Linked DNA regions of Homo sapiens: region 1 is linked to region 2. The links are contacts of gene promoters, found by promoter capture Hi-C in human tissues and cell types (Jung and others, 2019). All regions are on one chromosome and are shown on one strand. Each heading gives the region's core, a stretch centred on a gene start or on the middle of the fragment in contact. The rest is flanking DNA. Distances are from core to core; before and after follow the strand shown.

Region 1 (3,904 bases), core at 619-3,118, 73 kb after region 2:
GTAATGTAAAAAGACAGCCTACTGAATGGGAGAAAATATTTATAAGTTATATACTTAATAAGTGATGGATACTCAAAATTTATATTTTAAAAACTCCTACAACTCAACAACAAAAAGTCAAACAACTAGATTAAAAAGTAGATGAAGGACATGAATAGACATTTCACCAAGTATGATATACAAACGTCCAATATACCCATGAAAAGATGCTTAACATTATTAATCATTAGAAAAATGCAAGTCAAAATGACCATGGATAGCACATCACACCTACTAGGATGGCTATAATTTTTAAAAAGGGAAAATGGCAGGTGTTGGCAAGGACGTGGAGAAATTGGAAGCCTCATAAGTGCTGGGGAGAATCCAAAATGGTACATTTTATGTAGAAAACAATGTGGCAATTTCTTAAACAGTTCAAATAGAACTACCATATGACCCACCAATTTCACTCCTAGGTGTATATCCAAAAGAATTAAAAGCAGGGACTCAAACACATTTGTGCACTGATGTTCATAGCATTATTCACAATGGGCAAAATGTGGAAACAATTCAAATGCCCACCAACACATAAAGGGAATATGCGCATGATAGTATATTATTCTGCCATAAACATGAATGAAATTTTGATATATGCTACAACATGGATGGTCCTTGAAAACATGCATAGTACAAGAAGCCAGACACAGGATAAATATTGTAAAATTATACTTATATGATGTACCTAGAACAGGCAAATTCAAAGAGACAGGAAATAGAGTAGAGGTTACCAGGGGCTGGGAGGTGGAAGGAAAGGGAGTAGTGGACATAGAGTTTTCGTTACAGATGATGAAAACATTTTGGGTATGGATACTGGTGATAGCCACACAATGTTGTGAGTGTATTTAGTGCTACTAAATCACATACTTACAACTGGTTAAGATGATAATTATGTTATATATATATTTTTTCCACAATAAAACATTTCAAGGAATTTCTTTTCTCAGAGGCTTTTTTATGAATTGCCAAAAGGGGCAAATATATGATACAACATAATTTTTGCAGAAAATTTTATGTGAATGTCGTGATATATAGTCTGTGAAATGTTGGTCATCTACAACAAATCTATAGAACAGTGTGTTAACTTGAGGCTTTAACTGCATGAAAAATGTTCAACCTCCCCCACAATAGAAATAATGCAAATTAAAATTATAATGAGATACCATTTCTTAAGCTACCATTGACAAATGTCAAAATTAAAATAACACAGTATGTTGTTAAGCTGTGGGAAAATAGGCATGTTCATATAATCTTTGGAATATAAATTGGTATAAGTTCTACAAAGGAAAATAGGCAATGTATATCAAAATACAAATGAACATTCCCTTTGATTAAGCAATTTTATTCTAAGACTTTGTTTTATATATATTTGTATATGTGTGCAACTGTATAGATAATGCACATAGAATTATGTACATACGAAGTTACCATTAATTATACAATTTATAATGTACATATAAGTTACTGCTTTATGCTTTGCAATAGTAAACATTGGAAACAACCTAAGTATCCATAACTAGGTCCTGCATAAAGAAATTTTAGAATAGCTATACAATGGTATACTATGTAGCTGAAAAAAAAAAGAAAAGGAAAAAGGCATTCCATTTGTGACAGGGATTAATTTATAGCAGACCAAACCTCCCACTAATAACAACTAGAATAATTAGATTAAAAAGAAATTTGAAGGCAACAGAGGATTACCAAGGTAGCCAGAACTTGAAGGGCCAAGATCCTTAGGAGACAGGAAACTGAGATGACTCAAAATTGTACAGGCAAAGAAGCTGAGAAAAGGAGAAAAACAGGCTGCTAAGAAACAGAGGACAGCTTTTAGCAATCTCAAGATCTAGTGAGAAAAAAAGGTGGAGTTCAGGGCCACTAAGATATCCAGGAGTTGAGGAGCTAAGAGAAAGGAAGCAGATGTGAGACTGAAAATATGCAGCTTTTCCCCTTGAAGCATTTGCTGATTCCTGATTTCGACAGCATAGAAGAAACAAGAGAAGCTTGTCCTTCAAGAGAAGCTTAGAACAAGAGAAGCTTAGAAGAGAGTGGGAGCCAAGAAGTTCAAAGCTTTTGGCAGTCTCACAATGCTAGGAAGATATTTTTCAATGAAGTTAAGGGCCTCTCAAGAAAGACGGACAGCGATAAACACCCCAAGTTTTCATTTGGGATCCCTTAGAATCACAACCTAGGAATTAGAGAAAACACAAATAGACCAAGCATTACAAAGTCTGAAACACAACCTTAAAACTGTTTAATCCCTGATTGGAATAGGGTAATTTTCCCTATTCTGACTGTCACAAGCTAAACTCATAGAGAAAGATGTCAATATTTCATACACAATGTCTGCCATACAATTATTCTTTTCTTCCAAAAGAGAAAGAATAGAACAGAAAATAAACAATAGGAATAAATCTAAAAGTGATCCAGACAACTGAGTTTTCATAAACGGGCTTTAAAATGACTATTAAAAACATGTTTAATAAAATAGAAGACATGATGGTAAAATAAAGCTAAACAATTAGAACAATCAAGTTGAAAATCTAGAATGTAAAAATAAACATTTAATCTAGGAACTCAATAGGTGGATTAAATATTAAATTTGACACAACTGTACAGAAGATTCATGTTTTGGAAGGTGGGTCAGTAGAAAATATCTACATTGAAGAACTAAAGGGAAATTTTTGGAAAATTACAGAAGAGATCATATACACCTACGTGAGTTTTCTTTATTCTGGAATATTGGGTCTTTATGACTTGGATACCTTGGTACTCGCTAATGATTCAAGTGGCTATACTTTCGGTTTGTTTGAATTTTATCTGGCTTTTCTAATTATTGTTATCAGGAGCCTGTAGGAAATCAAGAAATAGAAAAAACAGAGAAAGAGGACTATTGAAAAAATGAAACAAATGGAAAAATAGTAATATAAAAGCTTTAAGTTAAAAAATCAGTAATTACATATATTAAAAATAAACTAAAAATTCCAATTGAAAGAAAAAGATTTTAAGACTAAATAAGGATGAAACCCAACTATATGTTGCATAATGAAGACACACTTCAAATACAAAGGCATAGAAAGTTTGAAAATATGGAAGAAGATGGCATACAAATATTAACCAAAATAATAAAATATTTTAAAGCTGGCATATCTAAATTCATATAAGATTAGTAGAATGTAATGCAAAAACATATTACCAAAGATAAGAAATATTTCATAATGATAAAAGTGTTACTTCATCAAGAATATGTAAAAAGAATAAGATAAGCTTAAATATGTAAAGCAAAAATCAATAGAACTAATAAGATAGAGAAACCCACAGTATTAGATTTTAGATTGAGATCCTTAACATACCTCTCTCAGTAACTGATAGAGAAGCAGACAAAAGTTGAGTAAAAATTAGAAATTTTGAACAAAGTGGTATAAAAATTTGAAACCAATAACTATATACAAAAGCAGAAAGTATGTATGATTCTCAACTTGTGTTTGGAACACTTACCAAAATGACCATATGCTGTACTATAATCAAGCCGAATATGTTCTCTGATCACAGTGGAATCAAGCCAGAAATTAGTTACAAAGAACCCATAAAATCTCCAAATGTATGGAAATTAAGAAGTACTCTTTGACATAACACAGGATTAAGGAAGAATCTCAATGGAAATGTTTAAAAATGTTAGACTGAAATAATAAAAATATAACATGTCAGATCTTGGGGGATACATGTAGAGTCACTATTCAAAAGTAATCTATAGCCTTAAATGCATGTTTTAAGAAATAAGAAAGACTGAAAATAAGTAAGTGAAATATTAGTCTCAAAAAAGTATAGAATAAGAGCAAATTAAACCAAAAGAAGAAAGGAAACATGTTAA
Region 2 (4,354 bases), core at 779-3,278:
ACAGCACTGGCTGCTTTGTGGCTCATGACTCTGATACTTACGCTCCTTTACATTTAAAAATTAAATCATATGGGAGACCAACAAAATTCTGCAACTGGCCTTCCTATAGAAATTCTCTATGCTAATATAAAAACTGTGTGTACTTCTTGAATTAAAAGCCATCTGAAATATACTCAATGCACCCATTACCAAGTAATATATTCTTAAACAACAAATTTTACAATGGCTATGGTATATCTGGCTTTTTAAAAAACAGAAGCTAGGCCAACCTACCTATTTTAACTTAGGAGTTTATAGCCTGACTCTTATTTTAAATTTGCATTTTTTACTGGGCCATTAAGAGAGAAAAATTATCTGCTTTTACATATTTGATTCTCCTTTTTGCCAGCTTCCCCAACATTTCTAGAACTGTCCAGGAAAAGTCAAGCAACTTTTTGAAGAAGGTGGAAATGAGTGGGGTATGACAGAAGCAAAATTGAATTTAGTGTGAGGCCCTTGGTGCCAATTTGGATCCAAAGTGCATTAAAGCAGCAGAATTCTAAACCTTGCAAAACTGGGATTTATAAGGGGAATGCTAACACAGATTCAACAGTTACAGCTCTGCAGGGATTACTTTAATACCAAAAGCATACTCTCTCACTTTATAGAAAGAGATTACTCAGTTGCCAAACAACAAAGGTTGCGTTTATTTGTTTATTTTAAAACTTTTACTTATTTTTTTTAAGTGCACTTTTTACTTTACTGGCAGGCAATCCTGAAATCAAATGTCCTTTATAGGGGTGGGGGCACGGGAGAAGAGAAAACAGGAGGAAGGTGGAGTTTGTCTCTGCCTCCACAGTTCGTATTATCTATAAGGCTTTGCCAGCTTTGCTTAACTGTTTCCACCCTGCTTTTGTTAAGAAGAAACCAAAAGTGTGGAGCGGGGAAAAAAGATAAATCTGAAATACACCTGACAGGGAAAAACAACTGGACACTGATACAAGAACAAGAAGATATTTAAATTGATGTTGGTCTAGAGAAAAATGTGAGGACAAGATTTTTAAGAGAAAGAAAAAAATCTGAAAGTCAAAAAAAAAGAAAAAAAAACAAAAACAGGAAAGCTAATCTTTGATTAAAATACTCAGCAGAATGTCAGGGAGAGGAAGACAAACACCTAAGTGATAATTTTTATGTTTATTGTGTCTGAAATGAAATGAGAGGGAACAAGCAAGTTAACGCTGGGAAGAGATAAGGGACAATAAAAGAGTGAAGTTAGTGACTTTCTGCAGAGGACAAAGTATGTAGTTTGAAATCCTTAACAACGGACTTGCAGTGTCTCTGCAAAAGTTGGTGAAAGATACCAGCAAGTGTAGGAAGGGGAGTATTTGAGGATGTCTTTCACAGACCCCAGATGGAGAAGCTGTTCTTTTATTCCAAATGCCTAAGAAGCACAGAAGTCTTACATGTTAATAAGAGAACACAGAGACACACACTCATAAGTTACACGCTGTGAAACAAAACAAGCAAAGGAGACCTTTTTTGACCCCTGTTCACTTACACAAATCTTAGTTTGGTTAAACGTCTTAAGACCAGTTTCCAGCTCCTTTTCACGGCTTTCTTTCCCTGGGTACCCAGGTGCACAAATGGGATGGTGATCTTTACAAAACAACATCATCAACAACAAAAAAAACCTCTTGCTCACACAAAAGCCCACCTTGTAAATGAATGGAATATTAACGATCACCTAATACTTGCACCTTTGGCAGGGCGAAACTGAACACTAACACAGCTATTTCTACAGATTGCCAGTGAAACCGAAGCAGTTCGAGGAGAAATGCACCTACTGTACGTGAAATGCTGGTGCAGATTTTTTTCCTATCAGTCTAACCTTCTGTGTTGATGCATGAAGGCTGGTACCCACTTACAGGGATGCCAGATGATCAGTGCAGAATGAAGGTCCCAAGAGAGAGGATCACATGGCTCTCTCTGCCCTGTGACGTCACTAGCAGATGGCATGGGTACCAGCTCTGGCAGTTGGCATCAATGTCACTTTTTAGAGATCAATGAGATAGTGCAGATATACACAGATCTAGAGACTCCAGGAGACGATGCGACACTCAGCCTGAAAAGATTTGGAAGACCCAAAATGAAAACTGATTATTGAATGAAATTAAAACCTAAGGTAATATAAATAAAGATATACTTCAATTGATGCTGGCTTTGCATGCAAGTATTTAAAGATACAGTGTCACTGTCTTATAGTATTTATATGCTCTTTGCCATCTATAACTTATCATATTTCATTCTTATGATGTAATTATCACATACTTTCACTGCTATTATGTAACACTGCAAGTATGTGGACATTACTAAGAGTTTGTGTATGTGTTCGTGTGTATATGTGTGTGTTGAGGGGGCTGGAGATTGTTAAATTGAAAAGTCTCTGCTTTAATGTGCCTATTTGTTTGAAGACTTTAGATGAAAATACTTGCTGCTTCACCAGACAAAAACCAAAATGCATTTGAAACACAAATTATTTTCCCCTTTCATTTGGGATTCTGAACACACGTGCACAATTGCAGTCAGAATCCTTGGACCGTTCCTGTCAGATATTAGCTAGAGGGAGACTTCTATGGCTCGTAGAACAAAAACACTACGAGAGTGGTTTTTGTCCAGGATGATTTGAACAGCAGTAAACAGACAATTCTATTTGGAAAAAATTTAAATGTAAATAAAATCAGTCTCTATTTTTTTTAATTAAAAGAAATTGCTAGTGATTTTTATGTTTTAAATTTATTTATAGAGTTTATTCCAAATTAGCCTAATCCCCTTTTCTTTTTGAAGCCTGGGAAAATAGTGCCCTTTTACATAATTCTTTACTGATCAGAAAAAATCAGTTGAAAAATTGACTCTGATTATAATCTTTTCTTTAAATTTGTATATTCCCACACCCACTTATCTAAATTCACAGTTGTGTGATACAGCAAATAAAGTTAAGGTTTTGTTTGTTTGTTTGTTTGTTTTAAAAAAAGAACACAAATTTGTCAGCTAATGGAGAGATAGTCCATTTTAAAAACTGGTTTATCTTCTCATTTTGTGCTCAGGGGAATTGGAATTAATGAAATTCTGCATTGCAATTTCATGTTTTGCATTTGCTTGAATTCCACAATCTTTTTTGGGGGTATTAAAATCCAGTTTAAAGGCAAAGAGAAATGTAGATGGTAATGATATCACAATAATTATATGTTTCATTTTTATTTTCTTTTGATAATTTGCTCATATAAATAATCCTATTGAATGCATCAATGTCTTCATAATTACTTATCTTCACAAACTCAAAATTATATTTAATGTTAAAAAATCAGGCCCAGAATCAGTCTTTTTCACGTGTTTTTGTAATCTTATGATTAAATAATTAAATATGTTTTAAGTGTATAAACTTTAAAAATGAAAACTCTTTAAATATTGTGCTGGCATTTTTTCAGGTAATTTAAGATTAGAGAACCATGTTAACACTACCGTTTGATGAGTCTGTTGTAATGCCAGAATCCCAGATGTGCAGAAAGTTTTCTAGAGAATGCGAGGACCAGAAGCAAATTAAGAAGCCAGAAAGCTTTTCCAAACAGATTGTCCTTCGAGGAAAGAGCATCAAAAGGGCCCCTGGAGAAGAAACCGAGAAAGAAGAAGAGGAGGAAGACAGGGAAGAGGAAGATGAAAATGGGTTGCCTAGAAGGAGGGGTCTTAGGAAAAAAAAGACAACAAAGCTGCGATTGGAAAGGGTCAAGTTCAGGAGACAGGAAGCGAACGCGCGCGAGAGGAACAGGATGCACGGCCTCAACGACGCTCTGGACAACTTAAGAAAAGTGGTCCCCTGTTATTCTAAAACCCAGAAACTGTCCAAAATAGAGACTTTACGACTGGCCAAAAACTACATCTGGGCACTTTCTGAAATTCTGAGAATCGGCAAGAGACCAGATCTGCTCACATTCGTCCAAAACTTATGCAAAGGTCTTTCCCAGCCAACTACAAACTTGGTGGCAGGCTGCTTGCAGCTCAACGCCAGGAGTTTCCTGATGGGTCAGGGTGGGGAGGCTGCACACCACACAAGGTCACCCTACTCTACCTTCTACCCACCCTACCACAGCCCTGAGCTCACCACTCCCCCAGGGCATGGGACTCTTGATAATTCCAAGTCCATGAAACCCTACAATTATTGCAGTGCGTATGAATCCTTCTATGAAAGTACTTCCCCTGAGTGTGCCAGCCCTCAGTTTGAAGGTCCCTTAAGTCCTCCCCCAATTAACTATAATGGGATATTTTCCCTGAAGCAAGAAGAAACCTTGGACTATGGTAAAAATTACAATTACGGCATGCA

Evidence for each region. Contacts are between HindIII fragments. The study calls those that stand out against the background at their distance.
Region 1: a fragment that was not itself captured here is called in contact with the fragment with the promoter of NEUROD6 in region 2 in 4 of the 25 tissues and cell types used here (bladder, dorsolateral prefrontal cortex, hippocampus and 1 more).

What each region holds. Positions count from the first base shown.
Region 1 is chr7:31,265,743-31,269,646 of GRCh38, reverse strand. No RefSeq gene overlaps it. Among named protein-coding and RNA genes, the nearest start is that of NEUROD6, 73 kb to the left of the region's middle. The HindIII fragment of the contact is 4,282 bases long and covers 1-3,904 here.
Region 2 is chr7:31,338,400-31,342,753 of GRCh38, reverse strand. NEUROD6 (neuronal differentiation 6) reads left to right here and starts at 2,028. Exons shown (of 2, transcript NM_022728.4): 1 at 2,028-2,161; 2 at 3,465-4,354. The coding sequence starts at 3,486. The HindIII fragment of the contact is 16,561 bases long and covers 1-4,354 here.